Linked DNA regions of Homo sapiens: regions 1, 3 and 4 are each linked to region 2. The links are contacts of gene promoters, found by promoter capture Hi-C in blood cells and fetal thymus (Javierre and others, 2016). All regions are on one chromosome and are shown on one strand. Each heading gives the region's core, a stretch centred on a gene start or on the middle of the fragment in contact. The rest is flanking DNA. Distances are from core to core; before and after follow the strand shown.

Region 1 (3,062 bases), core at 292-2,791, 690 kb after region 2:
CACAGCCGGGCACCCGAGCTCCAGTGACCCTGGGTCTCTGTGCCAGGGGGTCTGCCCAGCATTTCTGGGGGTTGAGAGGGCTTTTCCAGGTCAGAAGTGGGAGATGGGATCAGGCTCCCGCTCTTCCCTGGGCACCAGCCAGTGAGACCCTCATCTGGGAAACGAGGCAAGAATTAAGGGAAAGGGGCGAAGGCTGGGTCTACCCTTGGGGAGACAGTGTTACATGAGGGGTTCTTGTCCCCTCTGGCAGGTGGGTTAATTGAGAAGGGAAAAAACAAGCTCAAGGTCACAGAGTCCATTGAAAGCAGAGTCAGGGCTTGAACTCAAGTGCTGGGCTCCCAGACGGGGCTGCTGTTCCCACTTAGCAGATGTGCCTGTTGGGCCAGTGGCTGGAGTGGAGCTGGACCCCCACGCTAATAGGGCTTCTCAGGCCCTCACAAACACAGGAAAAGGCCTCCAGCCTCCACATGGCAACAAGAACCAACCCGCACAGCTGGGCAGGACCCTGCCTCCTCTCTCCCTACCTCCCCAACAAATCCCACACCCCAAGTCCCGAAGGCCCGGAGAGGTGGGAGAGCAGGGTTGTGCCACAGGATGAGAAGGGGCTGTGTAAAATTTACCCACTCCGGGCCTTGGCATCCTCAGTGTAAGTGGCCAGCAGCACAGCACTGCCTTGGGAACGGGAAAGTGGGTGTGACAGACCCTTGCAGGGAGCTATGTCCCAGCATCGCCCTTCACGCGGGCAGTCTGCAGGTCTGTACCTCCCACCTGGCCCATAGAAAACTGGAAGCCCACACAGAGGGGCGCTGGAGCTTGTCCCGGCCACCTCGTCACCAGCACAGCCCCCATCCTGCCATGCATCTCACCCCCACAACTGCCAAGCTCAAGCACAGAGAAAGGAGCGTGCCCTAGGTGACACAGTTCACTCATAGCTTGCTAGTGGCAGGGCCATCTCTGGGTGCTGCTTCCTGTGGGTCACAGCACAGAGGCTTCTAGCCTCAGATGAAGAAAGGGAGGAGCGCATCCCAGAGGTGCCCTGAGGCTCTCAGACAGCCCAGCCTTGCTGCAGCATGGCCAATAACTGTGTGATCTTTCTCCAGGTCAGCAGGGTCAATGATCTGGACAAAGTCCTGTGACTCTGGCCATTCAAACGAGCCACCGTAGTGTGGGAATCGGAGTCCAGCAGGAAACTAGGTGACAGACCATGAGAGCCACAGGGCTCTTAGACAAGATCACAGAGCCACATGACCACAGGGGACTGGATGATAGCCCACAAGGCCACAGAGCTCCCAGGGATGGGAACACAGAGTCACACACCACAGGACTGGGCGACAGCCCACAAGGGCACACAAAATTGAAACCCTGGAGCCACAGAATGTTAGCTTCAGGAAGCCCCAGATGGTAGCTCAAGAACTGCAGGCATTACGCTCATGGATCCATACCCACCACGCTGTGGTCTGGCCACAGGCCATTAGAACCGCAGCAGAGAATGCCAGAACTACAGACAGAAGCCACAGCAGCGAGTGGAGCCAAACCACAGGTTATCAGAGTCAGGGTGGGGACAGAGCAAGGCGATCAACATCATTGGACCTCAGACCATTCAGTGTTCAAAGGGACAGTGTAAGCCATCCGTGTTGCTCACCAAGCAAGCCGTGACCTCCTAAAAGCTCCTTTTCACAGCCCCTGACCCCTCCAATCTTGCCCTTAGCTCCAGAGAGCTCCAATCTTGCCCTTAACCCTGGAAAACTCCCCTTTCCATGGCTTCCAGTGAGAGATGCAGTCACATGGCCACTGTGTGACCTGGGATGATTCTCTGCCTACTCTGGGCCTCAGTTTCCCCACTGTAAAATTAAGAAGTTGGCCCTCTCTGAGGTCCTTTCTGATTATTGGAGGTGGGGTCCAATAATCAAAGGTAGGGTCAACCTCACCTCCAATAATCTGTGAAATGATCACATCACTTCTCTCCCTCTCTACAATCTTCTGTGGCTCCCAAAGGACTCACTTGAATGAATGAATGAATGAATGAATGAATGAACGTCAACTGCCCAGCCTTGAGGCATCTTTTTGCCCTTTGCCCTCAGTCCTGCTGCTTGAGGCCAGCTGGAGCATTCAATGATTCCCCTCGATTTCCCTTTCAGTTTGGGGCAGATTCTTATGCAACTCACTCAGCAGTGAGGGCAAGGCTAGGACTCATACCCAGGACTCTTGGTTCCAAACACCCTTCCAATCTGTTCCTGAGCACTGGAAAAAATACCTACAAGAAGGGAGCAGGCCCCTAAGACGAATCTTGGCTACAAGTCATTCTAAGCCCCCTGCCTCTGCAGCATGGGATCCCGCTCAGTGAGGCCAACCATCCCTCATGCCCTCCCTGGGGACCCTGCATGCCTCTGGGCTGCAGTGTCACATGGCATCCCAGGAGTCATGGCATCCCAGGAGACATGGCATCCCAGGAAACATGGCATCCCAGGAGTCAGGAGAGACAGCACGAGGTTCAGGATGATGCCACCACTCCAGGGACAAGGAAAACCAGGGGTGATAACAAGGTCACAACACACACTGGGGACTCTTCTAGTCCTCAAACAAGGATTTTCATGAGGCCCTGGCAGTGGGAGCATTGAGAGAACCTGTAATGATGATGACAGCGGTATAATCCAGTAGCATTTATTCCCAGGCCCAAAGCATTCAATAGTGCCCGTCATTCATTCACTTGCTCATGTGCTGGGCAGCTCTTATGCTCCAGCAGTGAATAAGGCTTCCAGCACTTACGTTCTACGCAGAGAGACAAACAAAGACATGATAAATATGTAACACACCACAGGTTGAAATAAGTGCTTTGAAGAAAAATGAAGTGGTGTGAGATGGTTATGAGGTAGGGGGAGGTCTCTGTGATCAAGTCTTCACACAAATGAAGGGAATAGGGGACCCAACCATGCCCAACCATGCAGATTGCTGAGCCAGGCAAAGAACACGGCCCATGCAAAGGCCCTGGTTTGAGGCCCAGCAAGGAGGCCAGGGCTGAAGCTGAGTGATGGACGGAGTAGCAGAAAGGATGTCAGTGGGGT
Region 2 (2,993 bases), core at 289-2,788:
GGCGGCCCCTGGTCGGCTCTGCACGCACCTGCTAGCGGCCGCGGCCGGACAACTTGCGAAATCCCCGCTCCAGAGACGTGGACTGGGGAAGTGACGGGGTAGGGGGGTAGTAGTGACAAAACACAAAGGGTCTGCCACGCACATCCCCTCGCCGCAGCCCCTGCGGTCCACCCCTCCTCAAAAGGGATGGTAATGGGTTCACTGCTGGGGGCTGGAGGGGCAGGGTGTGTGAGACCTACCAAGCGGGCCCTTCAGCGCCAGAACCTCTATCCATGCCCAGATCCCCCCGCCCCCACACCGCTCCGAGCCTCACACGCGTTGTCTTAAGTACAAAGGGTGACCGGCTTTGCACAAGCAGCTCCAGGACGCGTCCCGAGCTGCCCCCTCCCACCTTCCAGCCAGAGCGCCCCCGAGCCCCACCTCCACAGAAACGCTAGGTGAAGCCGGAGGGCTGCTCGCGCGCCCGGCCGCCTCTGCTGCCCAGTTCCAGGGGGCGGGGTGTCCCGCCTCTCTCTAGCGCTTGTCTCCCTCTGTGTCTCAGACCGCCTCTCGTCCCACCTTTGTGTGTGTTTGTTGGGGGTGGGACGTGCTGTCCCCTTGGCCCGGGAAGGGGCTCTGGGAGTCTAAGGGCCCCTGGAAATTGGGTGGTGCCAAGGCTCCGAGCGGCGGTTTATGTTTTTGCCAGCGAATGTCCTTCCTCCTGGGTACCTGTTCCCTGTTTGCACGGACCGGCCCCGCCAGCCACCTGGGGACTGCCCAGTCTCTAGGAACGGCTGTGCCGCGCCTCCTGAGAGAGTTCGTCTCGGGCTCCGGGGACTGAGCTCCCCGAGATTGGCTGTGGTCCTGGCTTGATGTTCCTGCTAGACCTGCTGTCCCTATGCCCGGGTCCGAAGGGTCCCCGGGATGGGCTGAACCTTTGCAGCAGCTAGCCCTCCCCCAGAGTCCCTCAGGCTGGAGCGTCCCTACCGGCTGTCTCTGGTCCTGGGGGATTCCAGACTCAGACGTCCTCAGGATGGCCAGTCCCCCTGCCTATATCTCCTGGGGTGTCCTGCGGGGGGCCTTTGTGCGTCCACCGCTCCCACACCGCACCCACCCGGCCTCTCAGAGAAGCTGTGGAAGTTGGCCGGCAGAGGCTCGCAGGCGGCACACCTCCCTCCCCGGGCCGTGCCAACTTTGTCGAAACACGCGCGGAAAGGGCGCAGGCAGCCCTTACCCGATCCGGAGGTAGACCATGCCCAGGCTGAGAAAGAGGTGGCCCAGGCAGCGCCGCGCTTTCCGGTTCATAGTCCCGATTGGCCGCCGGGGCCGCGGGCCGGGCTGTGCTGATCCCGCGGGCCGGCCCCGGCGGGGCAATCAACATAGCCCGCCCGGGAGGCGCGAGCCGAGGCGTCCCCGGGGCCGTCTGTCGGTGCGCCCGTCCGCGCGCTCCGCGCCTGAGCCTCGCCAGGAGCACGGGAGCCACGGAGCGGGAGGAGGGAGGGAGGAGCGAGCGCGGCGTGGGGCGACGCCGGGCTGCGCGCGAGCGACCGGTGCAAGTGTGCGAGACGCGGGGAGTGCGGGGGCGCTGCTGCCTCCAGCCCCCGCCCCTCCCTCCTTTCCCCCGTCCCTCCCCCGCCCCCTCCCCCGCCCGCCTCCCCGGAGCGCCCGCCCAGCGCCCCTGCGCCCGCGGGACAGGGCCGCCTGCACAAGGCGCGCGCTCGCGCCTTTCCATGCGCGCTCCCGGGGGCCCCCTCCCTGCTCCGGGGTGCAGGTGGCAGGCTGGGGAGCACAGCCCGGTTGGAGGCGGTAGGAGCCCGCTCGCCCCCCACCCGTCACTAACTTGCAGATTGCAGGGCGAGTGGGCGTCCAGAGGCTGCCCTCGGGTGGAGTGGACCAGACTCGGCCGAGAGGCCTAGTGCCTTGGTCTGCTGCCCTGCTCCCTCCAGCCCGGAACAGGGAGCTGGGGCTGACAGGGCACACCCCAGTTCCCCAACCCCAGCTTCAGGGGAGGGCGCCCCCTTTCGCGGAGCGACGGGCTGACTGGCTCAGTGTATTTCTTCCCTACTCCCACCTATTCGAGAGTGGCGGCAGGGGGTGCCCAGGTTGGGCAGCCTCCTCTGGGATCCTGCTGTTAGCCGACAGACTGAGTCGGGCTGAGGCCCAGTTGCCCCGCGCGGAACAGCAGTGGGGCGCCTGAGCCGCGGGAGCGTGAGGGGCGCAGCTGGCCGCTCAGAGCGCGCTCGCGGCGTCACCAGGCGGACGCGGCGGGTGGTGCACCTCGGCCTCGCTCCCGGGAACAGAATGCTTTGAGTGCCCTGGCCGACCCGAGGGGGCTAACACCCTTCTTTGGTGTACACCTCATCCAGTGAGCTAGGGGGAGTCTAACCGTCCCTGGAAATTGGGTGGTGCCAAGACTCCGAGCGGCAGTTTATGTTTTTGCCAGCGAATGTCCATCCTCCGGGTACCTGTTCCCTGTTTGCACGGACCGGTCCCGCCTGCCACCTGGGGGTTGCCCAGTCTCTAGGAGCGGCTGCGCCTGCGCCTCCGGAGAGTGTTCCTCTCGGGCTCCAGGGACTGAGCTCCCTGGGAGTGGCTGTGGTCCTGGCTTGGTGTTCCTGCTGGACCTGCTGTCCCTATGCCCAGGTCTGGCAAATCTGAACTCAGGTTTCAGCTGAAGACACTGAGGCTCAAGGAGGTGAAGGTGTTTGCCCAGAGTCACCAGCTAGCGAGTGGCACAACCATATGGGAAACAAAGTATGCCCAACTGTAGTAACCTCCTGCACCCAGTCCTGACTATCCTTCAAGATTGCCTTTCTAAATTACACACACACACACACACACACACACCCGAAAGCCACCATTCAGGTATTCATTCATATTCCATATTCTGTGCCAACCACGATAGTGGGCACCGTGGACACAAGGAAGAAGAAAGGCAACAGTCTTTCTTCTTGGGGCCAGGAAGGAGACAGATGATAAGTGAACAAGAACAGAGTTGCAGATAGTAGACCATT
Region 3 (3,101 bases), core at 358-2,857, 750 kb after region 2:
GGCTCTGCCAGCTATGAGCTGGGAGACTTGTGTGCTGCTCCAAACCTCACTTTCTTCCCTAAAATAAACGAATACAATCACACTACCATACAGGGAGGCTGTGAGGCTCAAGATAAACTGCTTCCAGAAGCCAGGCACTACAGTGCAGCAGAATCCAAAATCTCCCCCTCTCCCCCACCCTGTCTGCTGCCAACCCACCCCAGGGGCTGTACTAGCTGACAAGTTTCTAGTTGCCATCAGCTATGTGGCAGATGTCCCCAGTTTGGCAGAACAGCATTTCCTTGGCACAGATTGTCCCAGGGCACAGCTGAGACAGAGGTTCTGGCTATGTCAGTGGCCAAATCTGATTTAAAATGGGGAGGCCGATTGCCAGCATTCCAGATCGTCCCTAGTAAATGTGAGTAAACAGAGCTGTTGTTAAAGCAGTTGGAGTGAGTCCACTCATTCAATAAATATTTCATGAACACCTACTTTGTGTCAGGCATTGTGGATACTGTTAACCGTGAGCACACATAACGTCTGCTCTTAGGGTTTCAATCTCAATGGAGACAGACACTAATCAAGGAACCACTCAAATTACTATATAGTTTTTAAAAGCCAGTAAATGTTACAAATGCAAATTACAGGGTGCTATGAAACCTTGTAACAGGAGGTCTGTTGTAAACTGCTGTTGTATTGCCCACTCAGCCTCGTGACCTCATCTTCTTAATTTTCCTTCAGGGACGTACTTTTTCCTTCCATCAGCCCATGTAACTCAGGCGGGAAGGAGTTTATGGTGGGCACATGACCCTGCCTGATGGGAACACTCCATTCTCTGACCACTCCAATGACTGGTCAAAGATATGCATGTGACCTAAGTCGGGCCAATGAGATTCGACTCTGGGACTTTTGTAGGGACAACTGGAAGAGGGTTGTTCTCTCTCAATTGGGGTTTCTAAGCTGGAAGCTCAAATATCTTGAGCTTAAATAGGAGCCCCAGGGGAGAGCTTGCTTAAGCCTGGAGCCTCACAGAGGAAAGGTGAGAGATTTTTCACTAGGCAGCTTCTGGCAATGTCATTTGAGACCCTAGATCTAGCTATACCTGAAGCCAGATACTAGCTGGGCTTTTCCATTATCTGAACCAACAGTCACCCTTTTTGACTTAAGTCACTTTAAGTTTGTTTTTCCACCCCTTGCAATCAAGAGCTCTGCCTGATACAGGACTAAAGGGTTTTGGAAAGCTTCCCTGAGAAGTGACATTCATGCTGAGTGCTGAAGGACAAGTAAGAGTAAACTAGGCAAAGAGGCCAAGTCTGAAGTCAGCAGTTTTGGGGTTTAAAAACCTTGAGAAATTTGGGAAAGGGAAGGGGCCTTCATCCTGTGTAGACAGAAAAAGAATTAATGAAGGGATATCACCTGGGAGAAAAGGCAAGTTGCAAATCACACTTAACCCTTAAATCATTTGTTGTTTTTCATTTCAATAAACATGGAAATTTTCATCCCTATTCACTTTTGAAAAGATCTATATTATAATAAGCTCCCTTTGCAGACAGAAGGTGCCCTTCCCTGCACCAGCCATTCCCAAGGGGGTGAGGCCTAAGCCTGCCTTCAAAACCACCTCTGCTTCTGGCTTTGGGGTACTTTTAAAAGAAAGGAAGAAGGCAGGGGGAGGAAGAGAGGGAGGGAGGAAGGGAGGAGAAATAAGAAAGCAAGAAAGAACAATTAAAGCAAAAAGCAATTACAGACTGTAAATGGGACCTACTTTTAAATGCAAATAACCATTTCATAATTTACTAGTTTTATGACATTGTGTAATTTTGTGCCTCAGATTTTCTTAAATTTTAAGCGTTTATTTTTTTCATCACAAAAGTAATATAATCACATTTTGGAATGTGTAGAAGAGAAACAATAACTCTTTCTAATTTCCTTGTTTCAACCCAGCCAAAGTTAGTTTTTGCCACTTTTCTTCTTTTTGTTTGGCTAGTTCCGTGCAACATACAGAGTGCACTACTTTTCAAGCTTCAATGTGCATATGGGTCACTTGGAGATTTGTTAAAATGCAGATTCTGACTCAGTAGGTCCCGGGGCCGGGGATTCTGCATTTCTGATAATCTTCCCAGTGGTGGCAGGGCCAGTCCCAGACCACACATTGTGTCAGCGGGAGCTGAGGTCAACTCCAGGCTGTGTGGCTTCACGCAACCCACTCAGCATTTTTGTCCCAGTCCCTGAGTTCTGGTTTTTAGGAGTCTCCTGTTGGCCCCTGAACTGGATGAAGGGGACAGAGAGTCAGAAGATGTCTAAGGCACCAATGTCTAAGTGCTGCTAAAACGTCCCTGGGAGAAACATGTGGGTTTGAAAGGATAGCTTTGAGAAGCTACTGAGGTAGGGGTGACACCCTTGAGGAGGCTGTTCCACAGGGGGCTCCACAAAGGGTGGGCCCCAGTAACTCCTTCTTTTTTATTTCTTTTTTTTTTGTGGGGGACGGAGTCTTGCTCTGTCGCCAGGTTGGAGTGCAGTGGCATGATCTCGGCTCACTGCAACCTCCACCTCCTGGGTTCAAGCGATTCTCCTGCCTCAGCCTCCCGAGTAGCTGGGACTACAGGCGCCCGCCACCACACCCAGCTAATTTTATTATTTTTGTAGAGACGGGGTTTCACCATGTTGGCCAGGATGGTCTTGATCTCTTTTTCTTTTTCTTTTTCTTTTTTTTTTTTTTGAGACGGAGTCTCGCTCCGTCGCCCAGGCTGGAGTGCAGTGGCGTGATCTCAGCTCACTGCAAGCTCTGCCTCCTGGGTTCATGCCATTCTCCTGCCTCAGCCTCCTGAGTAGCTTGTACTACAGGCACCCACCACCATGTCCAGCTAATTTTTTGTATTTTTAGTAGAGACGGGGTTTCACCATGTTAGCCAGGATGGTCTCGATCTCCTGACCTCGTGATCCACCCACCTCGGCCTCCCAAAGTGCTGGGATTATAGGCATGAGCCACCGCGCCTGGCCAGTCTTATCTCTTGACCTTGCAATCTGCCCACCTCAGCCTCCCAAAGTGCTGGGATTACAAGCGTGAGCTAGCGCATCTGGCCAGCCCCAGCAACTTCTTTTTTTAAATTTAATTTAATTTAATT
Region 4 (3,229 bases), core at 305-2,804, 650 kb after region 2:
TGTTTCCAGTTTTTGGTGATTTTGAATAAAGCCATAATAAACATTTGCATACAGGTTTTCGTTTGAACATAAGTTTCTGTTTCATCCAGGAATGGCATTGCTAGGTGGTATGGCAAGAATATGGTTAACTTTATAAGAAACTGCCAAACTGTTTCAAAGTGGCTGTGCCATTTTGCACCCGACCAACAATGTAAAAGAGTTTCAATCGCTGTGCATCCTCATCAGCACTTGGTAATATCAGTTAGGGTTTAAACGAAAAAATTTAAGCTGGGCACACTGGCTTATACCTGTGACCCCAACACTTTGGGAGGCCAGGGTAGAAGGATTGCTTGAGCCCAGGAATTCAAGACCAGCCTGGGCAACACAGCAAAACCCTGTCTCCCTAATTAAAAAAAAAAATTAGTCATGCTAATACATGTGCAGAGGTATCTTACTGTGATTTTAATTTGCATTTGTCTAATGACTAATGAGGTTGGGCACTTTTTTTAACTTGCCATTCATCTATATCTTCTTTGGGGAAGTGCCAAAGCTTTTGCCCATTTTTAAGTTGGGTTGTTTGTTTCCTTGTTATTGAGTTTTCATATATTCCGGATACAAATCCATTGTCAGATGTAATAATGTGTGCTTTGAAAAGCCTTCTAGGTGACTCTGTGTCGCACTAAAGTTTGAAAAACATTTGTGGCTGGGCGTGGTGGCTCACGCCTGTAATCCCAGCACTTTGGGAGGCCAAAGGGGGCGGATCATGAGGTCAGGAGATCAAAACCATCCTGGCTAACACAGTGAAACCCTATCTCTACTAAAAATACAAAAAAAAAAAAAAATTAGCTGGGCGTGGTGGCAGGCGCCTGTAGTCCCAGCTACCTGGGAGGCTGAGGCAGGTGAATGGCGTGAACCTGGGAGGCGGAGGTGGCAGTGAGCCGAGACCGTGCCACTGCATTCCAGCCTGGGCGACAGAGTGAGACTCCGTCTCAAAAAAAAAAAAAAAAAAAAAAAAGGAAAAACACTTGTATAATGAATTGGTATTACCTCACAGGTAGTTTTAACAATCATTAACACTTTGCAGTATTTAGCCCATTTATTTTTATCTATGCTGAAATATTTTAAAACAAATCCTGGGCATAATGCAATTTCACCTTTAAATATTTCAATATGCATTTCTAAATAAGAACATATTTCTTATACAATAAAAGTATTATATCCCACCTTACAAAGTAATACCATAATTATTAGTCTAATACCCATTCCAAATTTTAATTCCAACAGTACATTTATGGCTCTTGAAAGCTTTGTTTGATTATTTTGCTTTTATCTTTGTTCTGTTTTTATATTTTGCTCTTCCTTTTTCTGTTGCTCCTTATCTTTCTAATAATTTTAAATATTTTGAACATTCACCTATTATTTTATTTTTCCATTATCTCAAACTCTTGGGAGGTATTTCTTCTGCCTAGTGTCTGATGACTCTCCCTTACAGTAGACTGTTTCCTCGTGTGGTTGGTAATTGTTGGATTGTGAACTCATCTTTAGTAGTGCTTCAACTGTGGGAATTCTATTCAGCCTGGTTGTAGGGCTCCAGGGTCCAGAGAGAATTTTCCATTCCTTCCCCTGGGTGCTTGCCAAAGTATCATTACCCTGATATCAATGATTATGGGTATTTACAACACTCATTAGAATTTATAATACCTCCATGGTATTGTAAATACCAATCTTGGCTCAAAGATTTCAGAACCATGGAGGTATTATAAATTCTAATGTTCACCAGAAACAAGGGGCACACCTTAGATCACAAATCCTCAAAGGAGACCACTGGAGGCTGAGTTGAGACAGATAAGCTTTTGTTTTAGCTCCCTGATAGACGGGTGAATATTTTCCAAGTCTCCTCTTTCACTGAGGGTAGATCTCTTCAAAGGTCCTGGCTTTATGCCGGGGTCTCAGTACCAACTTGGGAAAGTACAAGGTAGCTTTTCCTGTGTCTCTGAGCCATTAAAACCCAAGCCTTCGGCTACCAGACGCACAAACATCCCCCCATTCCTGCTGCCACCCCAGTAGAGAAGCCCCAGCATCACCTGCACTCATCCTACTTGTTTTCCATTTCTCTCCATTTTTTGAGTGGAAATGCATGTATAGGCCCATTTGTGGAGAATTGATGTCTTTTTCTTTGGGAGACAATATTGAATCTTCCAGTCAATGATCACAGTATATTCCTCCATTCATTTTTATCTTTAATTTCTCCTAAGAACACTGTGTACTTGTATGAGAAAAAGTCTTATACCACTCTCATTAAATGTATTCCTAGGCATTTAAAGTGTGTTAAAGCTACAGAAATTGGATTGTTTTTCAAATTTCATTTTCTAATTATTTGTTCCTGGTGTAAAAATATACAGTTCGTTTTATATTCTGAGCTTAAAAAATTTATTTTTAATTCTTGTGGGTATGTAGTAGGTGTATATATCTATGGGGTAGATGAGATATTTTGATACAGGTACGCACTGCATAATAATCACATCAAAGTAAATGGGGTATCCATCACCTCAAGCATTTATCCTTTGTGTTACAAACAATCCAATTAAATCTTTTTAGTTATTTTTAAATGTACAATTACATCATTATTGACTATAGTCACCCTAGTGTGCTATCAAATACTAGGTCTTATTCATTCTTTCTATTTTTTTTTGCAAAACTACGGAAGACTTCACAAATTTGTGTGTCATTCTTGCACAGAGGCCATGCTAATCTTCTCTGTATCATTCCAATTTTAGTATCTGTGCTGCCTAAGCGAGTACGTATTCTGAACTTTTAAATTCACTCATTAATTCTAAGTTTAGCCATACATTCTTTTGGATTTTCTATATACATAATCATATCATCTGTGAAAATGACAGTTTTATTTCTTACTTTCTAAACTTTATGCCTTTCATTTCTCTTATTTGCCTTATTGGACTGGCCAGACCTCCCTTACAAAGTTGATGGGGTGATTACACAGACCATCCTTATCTCCTTGATACTCTCACTCGCTTCATTTCTGATGCCTGAGGTTGTCCTTACTTTCCTGTGACTGCACCTGAGCATTTCAAAGGAGTTTGAAGCTGGAAGCTTGTCTGGTCACCTGCTGGACCCCAGCCTCCCTGCAGCATCCCTCCTTTTGCACATGCCTCATTTTGCGGGGCTCTGCCTGAGTTAAAGGCAGGGTTCAGCCTGATGGGGCATATTCTGGTTTCTCCTCTATGTGCTG

Evidence for each region. The method cuts DNA at HindIII sites, captures the fragments that hold promoters and counts their contacts. A CHiCAGO score of 5 or more calls a contact.
Region 1: a contact is called between a fragment that was not itself captured here and the fragment with the promoter of WNT7A in region 2, in 1 of 17 cell types (M0 macrophages). The highest score is 5.7, in M0 macrophages.
Region 3: a contact is called between a fragment that was not itself captured here and the fragment with the promoter of WNT7A in region 2, in 1 of 17 cell types (M0 macrophages). The highest score is 5.6, in M0 macrophages.
Region 4: a fragment that was not itself captured here is called in contact with the fragment with the promoter of WNT7A in region 2 in 1 of 17 cell types (M0 macrophages); the score reaches 7.3 in M0 macrophages.

Annotation. Positions count from the first base shown.
Region 1 is chr3:14,565,020-14,568,081 of GRCh38, forward strand. It overlaps a transcript of GRIP2 not described here. Among named protein-coding and RNA genes, the nearest start is that of GRIP2, 26 kb to the left of the region's middle. The HindIII fragment of the contact is 5,512 bases long and covers 1-3,062 here.
Region 2 is chr3:13,878,533-13,881,525 of GRCh38, forward strand. It overlaps WNT7A (Wnt family member 7A), which reads right to left and starts at 1,539. Exons shown (of 4, transcript NM_004625.4): 1 at 1,214-1,539. The coding sequence starts at 1,284. RefSeq lists enhancers at 12-513, 1,016-1,517. The HindIII fragment of the contact is 8,507 bases long and covers 1-2,993 here.
Region 3 is chr3:14,623,485-14,626,585 of GRCh38, forward strand. No RefSeq gene overlaps it. Among named protein-coding and RNA genes, the nearest start is that of CCDC174, 27 kb to the right of the region's middle. The HindIII fragment of the contact is 778 bases long and covers 1,219-1,996 here.
Region 4 is chr3:14,528,309-14,531,537 of GRCh38, forward strand. The region is part of intron 1 of GRIP2 (glutamate receptor interacting protein 2); the gene reads right to left. It also overlaps the pseudogene RNU6-905P. Among named protein-coding and RNA genes, the nearest start is that of GRIP2, 10 kb to the right of the region's middle. The HindIII fragment of the contact is 545 bases long and covers 1,283-1,827 here.